Regions from separate parts of the Homo sapiens genome. Here region 2 is linked to region 1. Evidence: promoter capture Hi-C in human tissues and cell types (Jung and others, 2019). All regions are on one chromosome and are shown on one strand. Each heading gives the region's core, a stretch centred on a gene start or on the middle of the fragment in contact. The rest is flanking DNA. Distances are from core to core; before and after follow the strand shown.

Region 1 (7,454 bases), core at 4,955-7,454:
GCATTGGAGTTGGAGACCATTATTCTAAGTGAAGCAACTCAGGAATGGAAAACCAAATATCATATGTTCTCACTTACAAGTGGGAGCTAAGCTATGAGGACATGAATACATAATAATGATATGTAATGGACTTTGGGGACTCTGGGGTGAGTGGGGAGAGATAAAAGACTACACATTAGGTACAGTGTACACTGCTTGGGTGACAGGTGCACTAAAATCTCAGAAATTACCACTAAAGAACTTATCCATGTAATGAAAAACTACTTATTCCCCAAAAACCATTGAAATAAAAAACAATTTTAAAAATACAGTGTTGGACAGTGAAACCTCGTCTCTACCAAAAAATGAAAAAAATTAGCTGGACGTGGTGGTGCACACCTGTAGTCCCAGCTACTCCGTAGGCTGAAGCATCAGGATAGCTTGAGCCCAGGAGGTTGAGGCCGAAGTGAGCTGAGATTGTGCTACTGCTCCAGCCTGGGGGACAGAATGAGACCCTGTCTCAAAAAAAAAAAAAGAATGAAAAAAAAAAAGTTGGGCATGGTGGCTCACATTATACCAATGCTGGTGTAATCCCAGCATTTTGGGAGGCTGAGGCAGGAGGATGGCTTGAGCATAGGAGACCAGCCTAGGCAAGATGGTGACACGCCATCTCTACAAAAAATACAAAAATTAGCTGGGCAGGTGGCATACACCTGTAGTCTCAGCTACTTGGGAGGCTGAGGTGAGGGGATCACCTGATCCTGGGGAGGTCAAGGCTGCAGTTGAGCCATGATCACACCACTGCAGTCCAGCCTGAGTGACAGAGTGAGACCCTGTCTCCAACAACAACAATAAAACAGTGTTGGGCCTACAGCTTCCTCTGTATTTTAGATTATTTTCTTAGGATTGATTCCTGTAAGTGATGATTAGCTCAAAGAGAATGAGCAGTATATTAGTGTTTACTCCTACTTGCTGCTGTAGCTCAGGAATTAAGGCCCTGGGCTCTGCAGTCAAGGGAATCTGGCTTTCAATCCTGCCTCAGTCACGTGGGCTGAATTTGGGCAAAGATCAAAAATTTCAGTTACTTTTATTGCAAATTAAGAATACAAATAGCCCTGACATTTGTACACTACAGCCCATTCTGTCTCCAAACATTGCTGCAGGAATTCTCCCTTCTCTCTCCTCCATCAATTTTTTTACCTTCTATATGATAACTCCCACCAGCATACAAATATGCTGTTATGTCTTCAATCTTTAAAAAAATCAAACAAAAGCCCTTCTCTTGACACCAATTCCCTTGCCAGACACTGCCTCATTCCCTTGCTGGCCTTCGCAGCAAAACTCCCAGAATAAGTAGTTTAGGCTTTTTATCTTACACCGTTCCCATCAGGCCTTTACCCCCAACATTCTGCAATTCACAGCAAGAGATAAGTTGGCTTTCACATTGCTAAACCCAATGATAGATTTGTAGACCTTGTCCTACTTTACCTAAAAGCAGCATTTGACACACCTGATCACTCCCTTATTTTTCACTTTGCTGCCACATTCTCCTGGGGTAGTTTCCTCCCATCTTACTACAATCTCCTTCCCAGTCACCTTTGCTGAATTCTTTTCTTCTCCCCAACTCTTTTATTTTATTTTTTGAGAGTCTCACTCTGTCTCTCAGGCTGGAGTGCAATGGTGCCATCTCACTGCAATCTCCACCTCCTGGGAGTGATTCTCCTGCCTCAGCCTCCCAAGTAGCTGGGATTACAGCATGCACCACCACGTCCAGCTAACTTTTTGTATTTTTAGTAGAGATGGGGTTTAACTATGTTGGTCAGGCTGGTCTTGAACTCCTGGCCTCAAGTGATCCACCCACCTCAGCCTCCCAAAGTGCTGGAATTACAGGCATGAGCCACCGGGTCCGGCCTCTCCCCAAATGGTAACATAAGAGTGTCTCAGACTCGGTCCTTAGCATCGTGGGTGATCAGCAACTATTTGGGGCTGGCGGTACAGGCAGTAAGAAGAATTTACCAAGGCAGTTGTAGGTAAAGAAAGGCAGATTTATTAGAGAAAGTATGAAAATACATTGCTGCCAGACGTGGTGGCTCATGCCTATAATCCCAGCACTTTGGGAAGCCGAGGTGGATCACGAGGTCAGGAGTTTGAGACCAGCCTGATCAACATGGTGAAAACCCATCTCTACTAAAAATACAAATATTAGCCAGGTGTGGTGGCACGCACCTGTAATCCCAGCTACTCAGGAGCCTAAGGCAGAAGAATCGCTTGAACCCGGGAGGCGGAGGTTGTGGTGAGTCGAGATAGTGCCACTGCACTACAGTCTGGGCGACAGAGTGAGACTTCATCTCAAAAGAAAAACAGAAAAGAAAAGAAAATACGTTGCAAGGGTGCAACGGGCAAGTTAGCAAAACAGAAGCTAACTGCAAGAAAACAAAATCTGGCTAAGGATTTTATAGGATGGTGCTTGTGCTGTGTGCTGAAGAGGGCTTTGTGCAGTACTGATAACATCAAGGGTGCAGGGAGCTTGCGTGCATTTTTCTATCAGGTGAGGGTCTGGCAATAGCTGGGCGCAGATAAGATTGTGAGTTATTCGCACAGGAGGGCTATGCATCCTGGGCCATGAAGAAAGGCAGACTTATAGCTTATCTGCTTTCTCTTTTTGCTTTCCCTTGGTCCTGCCAGCCTGACTCCTTTTGCCGAACTAGGACTCCATATTTAGTTCTCTTCTCCCTTAAGGATCTCATCTCTTGAACTCCAGACTTGACTAGCCAACTGCGTACTTGACATCTCCTGTTGGGTGTCTAATAGAAATGTTCAACAAACTGGTCAAAAACTGAACTCCTGATCTTTTCCCCACTTCTAATTCCCAAAATTGCTTTCCCTGCAGTCTTGCTCATTTCAGTTGATGGTAACTCCATCCTTCCAGTGGCTCAGGCCAGGATCCCTGAAGCCATTCTTGACTCTTTCTCATCTCCCACCTGATCCTTCGGAAATCATGTTCAACCTTCAAATACATCCCATCTCCAACCACTTCCCCCACCTGCATTTATACCAGCCTGTCTCTTGCCTGGATTACTGCAAAATCTCCTAGCAGATCCCCTTCTTCTACTCTTCCCCCAACAGTATTCAGTATTTCCAACACAGGAGACTTCAGTGACCCTTTAAAAAATATGTCTTGGCCAGGTGCGGTGGCTCACACCTGTAATCCCAGCACTTTGGGAGGCCAAGGCAGGTGGATCACCTGAGGTCAGGAGTTCAAGACCAACCTGGCCAACATGATGAATCCCCGTCTCTACTAAAAAAATACAAAAATTAACTGGGCATGGTAGCAGGTGCCTGTAATCCCAGCTATTTGGGAGGCTGAGGCGGAAAGAATTGCTTGAACCCACGAGGTGAAGGTTGCAGTGAGCCGACATGGCACCACTGCACTCCAGCCTGGGCAACAGAACGAGCCTCTGTCTCAAACAAACACAAAAGTCTTATCCAGAATATAAAAAGAACTCATATAACTTAACAACAAAAAAGACAAAAAATCCAATTTAAAAATGAGCAAAAAGCATGATTAGATATTTTTCCAAAGAAGATGTACAAATAGTGGCCAATGAGCACACAAAAAAGATACTCCACATCATTAGTCAGAAGGGAAATGCAAATCAAAAACACAATTATAGATGCCATTTCATAATGACTAGAGCACAAGTTTTTTGTACTTTTGTTTTTTTGAGACAAGTTCTCACTCTGTCGCCCAGGCTGGAGTGCAGTGGTGCAATCACGGCTCACTGCAGCCTCTACCTTCCAGCTTCAAGGGATCATCCCACCTCAGCCTCTCCAGTAGCTGGGATTGCAGGCATGTGCCACTACCCCTGGTTAATTTTTTGTAGAGATGCGGTTTCGTCATGTTGTCCAGGCTGGTCTCAAACTCGTGGGCTCAAGCAATTCACCCACCTCGGCCCTCCCAAAGTACTGGCATTACAGGCATGAGCCACTGTGCCTGGCCGGGTACAAATTTTTAAAAAATAAAATACAAGTGTTGGCAAGGACATGGAGAAATTAAAAGCCTCATACATGACATGGCTGATGGGAATATAAAATGTTGCAGCCACTCTGAAAAAATGTTTGGCAGTTCCTCAAAAACTTAAATGTAGAATTACTATATGACCCAGCAGTTTCATTCCTAGGTAAATACACAACGACAATTGAAAACAGGTACTCAAATAAGTATTTGTATGCAAATGTTCATTAGCAGCACTATTCACAATCAGCAAAAGGGGGAAACAATGCACTATCCATCAACAGATGGATGGATAAACAAATTATAGTGTACTTATACAACGGAAAATTATTCAGCCATTAAAAGGAATGGAGTGCTGGACCGGACACGGTGGCGCATGCCTGTAATCCCAGCACTTTGGGAGGCAAAGGCGGGTGGATCACCTGAGGTCAGGAGTTCGAGACCAGCCTAACTAACATGGTAAAACCCCATCTCTACTAAATACAAAAATAAATTAGCCACACGTGGTGGTGCATGCCTGTAATCCCAGCTGCTCGGAAGGCTGAGGCAGGAGAATTCCTTGAATCTGAGAGGTGGAGGTTGCAGTGAGCCGAGATCACGCCATTGCACTCCAGCCTTGGCAACAAGAGCAAAACTCCAACTGAAACTAAAAAAAAAAAGGAATGGAGTGCTGATACATGCTACAGTGTGGATGAACTTCAAAAACATGCCACATGAGGCCAGGCACGGTGGCTCACGCCTGTAATCCCAGCACTTTGGGAGGCCGAGGCAGGTGGATCACCTGAGGTCGGGAGTTCAAGACCAACCTGACCAACATGGAAAAACCCCGTCTCTACTAAAAATACAGAATTAGCTGGGTGTGGTGGCGCATGCCTGTAATCCCAACTACTCGGGAGGCTGAGGCAGGAGAATTGCTTGAACCCAGGAGGCAGAAGTTGTGGTGAGCAGAGATCACGCCACTGCACTCCAGCCTGGGCGACAAGAGTGAAAAAACAACAACAAAAACAAACAAACAAAATGCCACATGAAAGAAGTCAGACAAGAAGGGTTGCATCTCATGTGATTCCATGTATATGAAATATCCAGAATAGGCACATCCGCAGAAGCAGAAAGCAAATTGGTGGTTGCCAGAGACGAGGGGTAAGGGAAAGTTAGGAGTGACTGCTCAGTGGGTATACTGTTTTATTTTTCCGTGAAGAGAATATTTTGGAACTAGATAGAGGTGGTGGATACACAACATTGTGTCTGTACAAAATGCCACTGAATTGTTGACTTTAAAATGGTTAATTTTATGTTGTGTGGATTTCATCTACCCAAAAATAATACCCTTTCTTTGCTCAATATCCTGCAATGGATCCCCAGTTGACTCAGAGTAAAAGACAGCGTGCCTTCAAGGGCCCCGGAGGTCCCACCTGATTGGGTCCCTCTTATCTCTCCTCTCCCTCCCACTCACTCCATTCCAGCCACACTGGCCCCCCTGCTGATCCTCGGAGGCGCCAGGTGGCCTCCTGCTAGGAGCATTTGCTCCAGCAGTTTCCTCTGCCTGGAACACTTTCCGCAGGTATCTGTCCAATTCTTCTAACTTCCTCATCTTCTCCTTACCAATCCCCTGGGGACAATAATTCTCAGTTTCCTCTGTATTCTCAGTTTATCAATTTTTCCTGTTCTAGCGCTGGATTACAACTGCTGGTCTCCCTGCCTGCCTTCCCTGCTTCCCAGAGCACGAAGAAGCTTGCCTCCGCAACCCACTATTTGTGTGACCTTGGTCCAGGAACTGGACTGGGCTCTCCTCCTGAAAGTGGGTAAATAATGTCACCGACCTAATGAGGCTGTTGAGGCATGGAATCTGATCAGGCAGATAAAGTGCCCCTGGCAAACCTCAATTTTCTGTTTCTCAACAAAGCTTTGGCGACTTATAAGAATTTGCGGGAAAGTGTCCAGAACCCGGAGTCAGGAGCCCTGACTTCTAGCCCTGAAGGGCCGCGTGACCTTGGCCAAAGCCCCTAATCCTTCTCAGTCTCAGATCCGGGGGCTGGAAACTGAGGAGGTTCTCCCGGCAAGCCCCTCGGGCTAGTGACATTCTAAGATTCCAAGAGCTAAGGAGCTAGAGGGGTGGGGTGGAGGAGGGAGGCGGGCGCGCCGGATTGGCCTCTGCGCGCCACGTGTCCGGCTCGGAGCCCACGGCTGTCCTCCCGGTCCGCCCCGCGCTGCGGTTGCTGCTGGGCTAACGGGCTCCGATCCAGCGAGCGCTGCGTCCTCGAGTCCCTGCGCCCGTGCGTCCGTCTGCGACCCGAGGCCTCCGCTGCGCGGTGAGTGGGCTGAGGCTGGAGAGGGGAGTCGCTCTGGGAACCCCTTCCCGGGGGCTGCAGGGACACAAGAAATAAGCGCCCAGTCATCGGCTGATGGGTACCCCCCGCCAGGAGCAGGGACGGGAGGGCGCGGTAACCCGAGAGTGTCGCAGACTGGGTGTGTCTGGGGAGCGCAGCGGAGCAAATCTGGGGTCGGGGCGGAGAGGCGCGGGCGGAGGGCGCCCTGGCTAGGGGGAGGGGAGGGAGTCCCGTTGCTGCAGAGGGTCTGGTTGAGGGTCCTGGGCGCCGGAGCTGAGCCAGGGGCTGGTCCTGCCGGCCTTAATTTGGGGGGGCTCAAGAGACTTTGAAGGTCCGGGGTTGGGGTCAGCTGGACGCCAGTCAAAGGACCCGCAGAGAAGGGTGTGGCTGAGGCCCAAGACTGAGAGCAAGAGCGTTGGACCCTCCAGCTGCTTATAAAATGGCTTGTGTGTGGTGTCGGGGGAGGGCTGCCTGCGTGCAGAGAGCTGAACGTCCGGTCGTACATACCTCAGGGCCTCATTGGACCCCATCCCCTTTGGGCCACTGCTTGTCTATGAATGCAGTCTCCCAACGGGGCTCCGAGGCCTCCTATGGTGAGGCAGGGGCACTACCCTTCTTTCTGCATCCCCTAAGCGGTCTAGGCCTTCCCAAAGTTTGGGGGCTTCAAATAATTCCCCATATACCAGCATGGGAGCAAAATACCCTGAATCGGAATCCCAGCCCCTGTTGCAGTGTGACTTTGGGCGGTGGCTTTCCCTCTCTGAGCCTGGATTTCCTTCTCCAAGTCCATAGTTGAGAAACCCAGTCTCTTTCAAAGGAAACAATGGCTTTGAAAACTGATTTATTTGTCAGCTGTATGGAATGATTGCAGGTTTGGGAGTCTTGATTATAGATTTGGGAAGCCTGGCACAACCCTTGTAGGCCCTACAAGGGGAAAGGGCAGGAGGTCCTTTGGGACAACTAATCTGGCCACGGCTTCCTGCCTCCTCCTTCCTTTCCCTAGATTCTAGTGGGTCTTCTCTGACAATTCCAAATTTGGACATATGGCTCCCGGGTTTGTGAAAGGACTCTGGTTTCCCCCCAAGAGTCCGCCCTTTTCCCTCCATTATTCCTTCCCCCTTGCCCAAAACATG
Region 2 (7,454 bases), core at 2,926-5,425, 600 kb after region 1:
GGAGACTGAGGCAGGAGAATTGCTTGAACTCGGGAGGTGGAGGTTGCAGTGAGCCGAGATCACACCACTGCACTCCAGCCTGGGTGACAGAGCAAGACTCCGTCTCAAAAAAAAAACAAAAAACAAAAAACAAACAAACAAAAAAATTATAGCCATCCTAGTAGGTGAGAAGTGGTTTTGATTTGCATTTCACTAATGACTAATGTGTTGAGCACCTTTTCATGAGTGTGTTGGCCATTGTACGTCTTCTTTGGAGAAACATCCATTCAAGTCATTTTCCCATTTTTTAATTGGATTGTTTGTCTTTTTGTTGTTGAGTTGTTCTTTATATTTTTTGGATATTAGGCCCTTATGAGACATATGATTTGCAAATATTTTCTCCCGTTATGTGGATTGTCTCTTAACTCTCTTCATAGTGTCCTTTTTTCTTTCTTTCTTTTTTGAGACAGGGTCTTGCTCTGTCACCCAGGCTGAAGTGCAATGATGCAATCTTGGTTCACTGCAACCTCCACTTCCCAGGCTGAAGGGGTCATCCCACCTCAGCCTCCCAAGTAGCTGGGACCACAGGCACACCACCATGCCCAGCTAATTGTTGTATTTTTTGCAGAGATGGGGTTTCACCATGATGCCCAGGCTGGTCTTGAGCTTCTGGTCTTAAGTGATCCACCCACCTAGGTCTCCCAAAGTGCCAGGATTACAGGTGTGAACCATGGCGCCTGGCCTTAATGGTGTCCTTTGACACACAAAAGTCTTTTAAATTTTAATGAAGACAAATTTATTTTTTTTCTTTGTTGCCTGTGCTTTTCGTGTCATATTTAAGAAACCATTACCAAATTCAAGGTCATAGATATTTGCACTGATGTTTCTAATAGTTCTAAGTTTAGCTCTTAAATTTAAGTCTTTGATCAATTCTCACTTAGTCTTGGCATATGGTATGTGGTAAGGGTTCAACTTCATTCTTTTGCATGTGATATCCAGGTTTTGGAGCACTATTCTTTCTCCAGTGAAAGGTCTTAGCACCCTTGTCAAAAATCAATTGGCAATAGATGTGAGGGCTTGTTTCTGGGCTCTCAATTCTACCCCAGGGTCTATATGTCTATCCTATGCCAGTAGCACACTGTTATAATTACTGTAGATTTGCAGAAGTTTTGTTTTTTTGTTTTGTTGTGTTTTGTTTTTGAGACAGAGTCTCACTCTGTTGCCCAGGCTGGAGTGCAGTGGTGCGACCTCGGCTCACTGTAACCTCTGCCTCCCGAGTTCAAGTGATTCTCCAGCCTCAGCCTCCCAAGTAGCTGGGACTACAGGCACGCGCCATCGCGTCCAGCTGATTTTTGTATTTTTAGTAGAGACGGGGTTTTGCCATGTTGGCCAGGCTGGTCTCGAACTCCCAATCTCAGATGGTCCACCCACCTCGGCCTCCCAAAGTCCTGGGATTACAGGTGTAAGCCACCGTGCCTGGCCTGCAGTAAGTTCTGAAATCAGAAAGCATGAATCCTACAACTGCGTCATTTTTTTTCAAGATTGTTTTGGCTATTCTGAGTTTCTTGAAATTCCATATGAATATTAGGAATTTTCATATTAGGAATTTTTTTTTTCATTTCTGGAAAAAAACCTATTGGATTTTGATAGGAATTGCAAAAAATCTGTATATTCCTTAACAATATTAAGTCTTCTAATCAAACATGGGATGTCTTTCCATTCATTTAGATCTTTAATTTCTTCAAGAAATGTTTTATAGTTTTCTGTATTCAAGTTTCTCACCACCTTGATTAAATTATTCCTATATATTTATTATTATTATTATTATTATTATTATTATTATTATTATTATTATTTTGAGAGAGAGTTTACCTCTTGTTGCCTAGGCTGGAGTGCAGCAGCATGATCTCAGCTCACCACAACCTCCACCTACAGGGTTCAGATGATTCTCCTGCCTCAGCCCCCCAAGTAGCTGGGATTACAGGCATGTGCCACCACACCCGGCTCATTTTGTACTGTTAGTAGGGATGGGGTTTCACCATGTTGGCCAGGCTGATCTCAAACTCCTGACCTTGGGTGATCCACCCGCCTCGGCCTCCCAAAGTTCCGGGATTACAGGTGTCAGCCACCACGCCCAGCCTATATTTTATTCTTTTTGATGCTATCATAAGTAGAATTGTTTTCTTAACTTCCTTTTTGGATTGTTCATTATAGTGTATAGAAATTCAATGGATTTTGTGTATTGATTTTGTATCCTGAAATTTTGCAAAATTCACTTATTAACTCTAATAGTTTGTGTATGTGTATGAATTCTTTTGGGTTTTCTAGGCATTAAGATCATGTCATCTATAAATAGAGATAGTATTACTTCTTTCTTTCCAATTTGGATGCCTTTTGTTTTTTTCTTGCCTAATTGCTCTGGCTAGAACTTCCAGTATTGTGTTGAGTATAAGTTTCTAATCTTAACTAGAAGTTATGAAAACAGACATCCTTGTCTTGTTCCTCATCCTAGGGGAAATGCTTTCAGTTTTTCACCATTAAGAATTATGTCACTTGAGCCCAGGAGTTCTAGACCAGCCTGGGCAACATGGCGAGACCCTGTCTCTACAACAAAAATAAAAAATTAGCCAGGCGTGGCACGTGCCTGTAGTCCCAGCAATTTGGGAGGCTGAGGTGGGAGGATCGCTTGAGCCTGGGAGGTCGAGGTTGCAGTAAGCCACGACTGTGCCACTGCACTCCAGCCTGGGCAACAGAGTGAGATCCTGTCTCAAAAAAAAAGTTATGTTAGCTGTGAGTTTTTCACATATGGCATTTATCATGTTGAAAGAGTTCTTTTCTAGTACTAGTTTGATAAGCGTTTATATCATGAAAGGGTGTTGGATTTTGTCAGATGCTTTTTCTGCATCAATTGAGATGATCATGTGGTTTTTTCCCCCTTCATTCTAATAATGTGGTACATTACTTTGATTTTCATATGTTGAACCACCCTTGCATTCCTAGGATAAAACCCACTTGATCATGGCATATAATTTTTTTGTTTTGTTTTGTTTTTTGAGATGGAGTCTCGCCTTATCACCCAGGCTGGACTGCACTGTCGCAATCTTGGCTCACTGCAACCTCCGCCTCCTGGGTTCAAGCGATTCTCCTGGCTCAGCCTCCCGAGTAGCTGGGATTACAGGTGCATGCTGCCATGCCTGGCTAATTTTTGTATTTTTAGTAGAGATGGGGTTTTGCCATGTTGGCCAGGCTGGTCTTGAACTCCTGACCTCAGGTGATCCACCTGCCTCAGCCTCCCAAAGTGCTGGGATTACAGGTGTGAGCCACCACGCCTGGCCTGCAATTTTCTTTTCTTGTAGAGTCTTAGTTTCAGTATCAAGGTAATGCTTGGCCTCATAGAATGAGTTGGGAATGTTCTCTCCTCTTTAGATTTTTGGTAAGAATTTAAGAGAAGGATTGATGTTAATTCTCCTTTAAATGTTTTGTAGGATTCACCAATGATGCCACCTGGTGGTAGGCATTTCTTTGCTGGGAGTTTTTTGATTACCGATTCAATCTCCTGACTTGTTACAGGCCTATTCAGATTTTCTATTTCCTCTTGAGTCAGTTTTGGTAGTTTGTGTGTCTCTAGGAATTTGTCCATTGCATCTAGAGCATCTGATTTTTTAACGTGCAGCTGCTTATAGCAGTCTCTCATGTTCCTTGTTTTCCTGTGAAGTTGGTGTTATGTGTGTGTGTTTTGAAGGGTCATTCTCAGCGCCTCAGATCACCCACCACTTCCATTTCAAGGTCCCAGGAAGAACAATCAAATGTAATGAGTTTCCACATTGAGTGGGCCACTTGACTCCTCAGCCCATCCTCATCTGCCTCAGGACAAAGGTGGCAGTGCCACCCCCAGGCTCAGGCTCAGAAATGGGGTCTGTATGTGTGTGAAACCAGGAACTGGCAGAGACTTTACTGAGCACTCACTGTGTAGCAGGCTCCTGCTGAGGGCTTTCCAGACACTGTCTCTTCACTCCTCACAACATCTCTGTCACCTCAGTCCTGTGACTATCCCCACTTCACAAAAGCAAAGACTGAGGCTCAGAGACATGAATTACTTGACCAAGGTCACACAGCCAACACTGAGCCTGTATTTGAAACCAGATCTACCCGGCTGTGCATATTTTGACTACTGTGCTGCACAGCCTATTCCTTCCCAAGGGAGAACACCCCAGAATGGGGCAAAGGCCAAGGAATTCAAGCTCCAGTTTTTACCCCCACTCCCTGAAAGGTGTAATAGAGCAGAGCTTCTCCAAGTACCCATGCAGAGGAGCCCTCCATCTGCTGCCATGCAGAGCAACAGACACCCTCCACCAATTACCCATGCAGAGGAGCCCTCTGCTGCCATGCAGAGCAGTAAATACCCTCCACCCACTGACCAGAGGCCCCCATGGAAAAGCACAGTGCAGAATAGCCTGAGGGTACACACCAGCAGGGTGTGCATGCTCACGCAACTGTTTGTATATGTAAAACAATTTCTGGAAAGATCCACAGAAACTGCTAATGGTGGTTTCCTCTGAAGAAGTGAGTTGGAGGACAAAGGTCAGGGAGTGGAAGGAGACATACATCTCACACCATTCCCTGTTTGTACTTCTGTTTTAGATTTGTAGGTACACATACTGTTAGGCACCTTTAACAGCTTCCCAGGATCACCCAGTCCCCAGCCCTGAAAAGGGCAGAGCCAGGCTCGGGGAATTGTCCCCACTCTGCCTCATGGTCATGGCATTTCCCTGTGCCAGGACACATTCCCAGCCTCAGGCCCAGGGGGCAGGACAGCCTAGTGGACTCCAGGCTGTGGAGTCTCATGGATCAATGACTACCAGCTCTGTGATCCTGACAGAGTTACTTAACCTCTCTGAACTCAAATTCCTCAAATATACAATGGGAATGATAATACCTACCTCAGAGGATTGTTATGAAGATTAAAAGAGGCCGGGCAAGGTGGCCGATGCCTGTAATCCCTGCACTTTGGGAGGCTGAGGCAGGAGGATCATTTGAGGCCAGGAGTTCAAGACCAGCCTGGGCCACATGGCAAAACCCCATCTTCACAAAAAATACAAAATAATTAGCCTGGCGTGGTGGTGCATGCCTGTAATCCCAGCTACTCAGAAGGCTGAGGTGGGAGAATGGCTTGAGCCCAGGAGCTTGAGGCTGCAGTGAGCCGAGATCACTGCATTCCAACCTGGGTGACACAGTGAGACACTGTCACAAAAAGAAAAAATTTTAAAGATAGCACTTGATAAGCAGAGGGTCTGCCTGACAGGATAAGAAATACTTTTTATTTATATTATTTAATTTATTGATGTTAATATTGATAATATTATTGCCCCACCACCATTAACCACCAGCCCAGTCTTCCCGGGAGGCATTCGCGCTGACTACACTGTGAGAGGCTAGGATAATAGTGCCCCCTGGTGGACATCTTTTGGACTGCATCTGATGAGTACCTACCATCTAGTACCACTAGAGAAAGAACAGGAGTCAAAATTCAGTTCCATTTCTTCCTTTTTACCCCTAAATATTAGGTTGGTGCAAAAGTAATTTCAAAAAACTAATATCTCACATGTACTTCATTAGATACTCTTACATAACAGTAAAATAATCAAAACCAGAAAATTGAACATCGGTTGAATAGTATTATCTAATCCACACGGTCCATCCTGACATTCTGCTAGGTGTCCCTATGGTATCCTTTATAGCTAATTGTTTCATGGTCCAGGACCCCTCCAGGGTCACACATGGCATTTGATTACCACATCTCTTTAGTATCCTTTAATCCTGAACCATTTCTCAGCTTTTCTGTATCTTTCATCACCTTGACATTGTTGGAGTTCAAGCCAGTTATTTTGCAAAATGTCCCTCAATACGGATGTGTCTGTCTGTTCCCCTTGGCTGGATTCATGTCCCGTGTTTTCGTTAGGAATTTCCCAGGTGTTGCACTGGGTCCTTCCCATTGCATCATATCGGGAGACATGGTGTCAATTTGTTCCAGCAATGGTGATGTTAACCCTAGCTCCCCCGTCTGTCAGCTTGGGGAAGCTAAGCTCCCAGGGCCAGAGAGGAGCTGAGACTGGCCTACAGTCACAGGAAAGTCAGGATCCTCAGCTCAGGGTCTTCACGAATGCTTAGGATAAATGCAGCCAGGCAAGAAATTGATCACCGGCACCTAGGCCTCCTCCAGATCCTAACTCCATAGGAGCTTAAGGGCTGGGTAAAGCAGTGTTGGCCTTCATCGCATCGTCATGTAAGTCTAGCTGCTTGGAGTCCCCCTTTCTGCTTTGTCCATTTCTATTTTTCATTAAGACTTTTTCATTCCACAAATGATATGCAAATGCATTATCCTTGTCTTATATATATTTCAGCCAAGGCTGAAGTCTCCTTTGAAAGTTCCCCTTCTCAGTCTTTCCTCCCCTAGTATCAGTTTGATATGAGACGTCTATCTACAACCCCAGGAAAAATACAAACTGTAGTGTTCTCTTTCCATGATGGTCACATTGTATAAGTCTGTCATAGAAATTTCCCTGGCAGGGCTTGGAGACTGAGCTCATTACTTTCAACTGAATCATCATTACAGTGAATGGATACACTGGAGGTTACCTAGCTGAGACCCTGTGGATGGACATCTAGGTTGTTCCCAGCGTTTTCCTATTGTGAAACACACTGCCCTACACGCATGATCCAGGCTTCTCCAAGGTAACTCCCCACCTCTAGAAGCCCAAACCACTCCTGGGGCACCAGATTTACTGGGTGGACATCCCCGTGGGGGGTGAGGAGGGGCTGATGGGCTGCTACTCATTCAGCCTATTAGAACTGCAGGACTTTTAGGACCTCTGGAAGCAACTGGGCTGGGTTTTCACAATGTGTTTTGAGAAATCTTAGGGTTCCAAGATAGCCTGAGAGACAGGGAGGAGGTGAGCTGGGAAGAGTCCAGAGCTTCACTCCCACTCCAACCACAGAGCACCCCCACCTTTACCTGGTTTTCAATTAAGTGATTCTTTCAAAACAGAATCTCAGCTGTATGTAAATTCAAAAATCCCTGTTGCAGGCTGACCCCTCAGTTGGCACAGTCACCTTTCTGCACCATGCCTCTGGATCTGCTCTTGTCCATGCAGCCTCCAGCTGTGTTCTTGCTGGTGAGGGCCACCTGACCCAAACCAAGCTCCCAGCTGACGAACTGCAAAGAGGGCTCTGCAGGTGCTGCCCTTGTGCCATCAGAGGTGGCACTGTGGTATTTCACTTTGAACATACTGGGTCCTGGGAAGCAGGACTGCCCAGCTGTGTCCCCAGCATGCCCCTCCTCTGTCCCTCAGAAGCTGTGCACATTTCTGGGTACCGTCTCTGACAAACATGGTGGCCTGATTCAGTGTTCCCAAACTTCCCTGAACACCAAGGAGTCTGTTAAAGTACACAGTGCTGGGTCCCACCCCAGAGGTTCT

What was found. Contacts are between HindIII fragments. The study calls those that stand out against the background at their distance.
Region 2: a fragment that was not itself captured here is called in contact with the fragment with the promoter of ANXA6 in region 1 in 1 of the 25 tissues and cell types used here (liver).

The regions. Positions count from the first base shown.
Region 1 is chr5:151,156,529-151,163,982 of GRCh38, reverse strand. It overlaps ANXA6 (annexin A6), which reads left to right and starts at 6,204. Exons shown (of 26, transcript NM_001155.5): 1 at 6,204-6,303. RefSeq lists a silencer at 5,332-5,391 and an enhancer at 5,187-6,043. The HindIII fragment of the contact is 14,536 bases long and covers 1,903-7,454 here.
Region 2 is chr5:150,559,090-150,566,543 of GRCh38, reverse strand. No RefSeq gene overlaps it. Among named protein-coding and RNA genes, the nearest start is that of NDST1, 55 kb to the right of the region's middle. The HindIII fragment of the contact is 9,022 bases long and covers 1-7,454 here.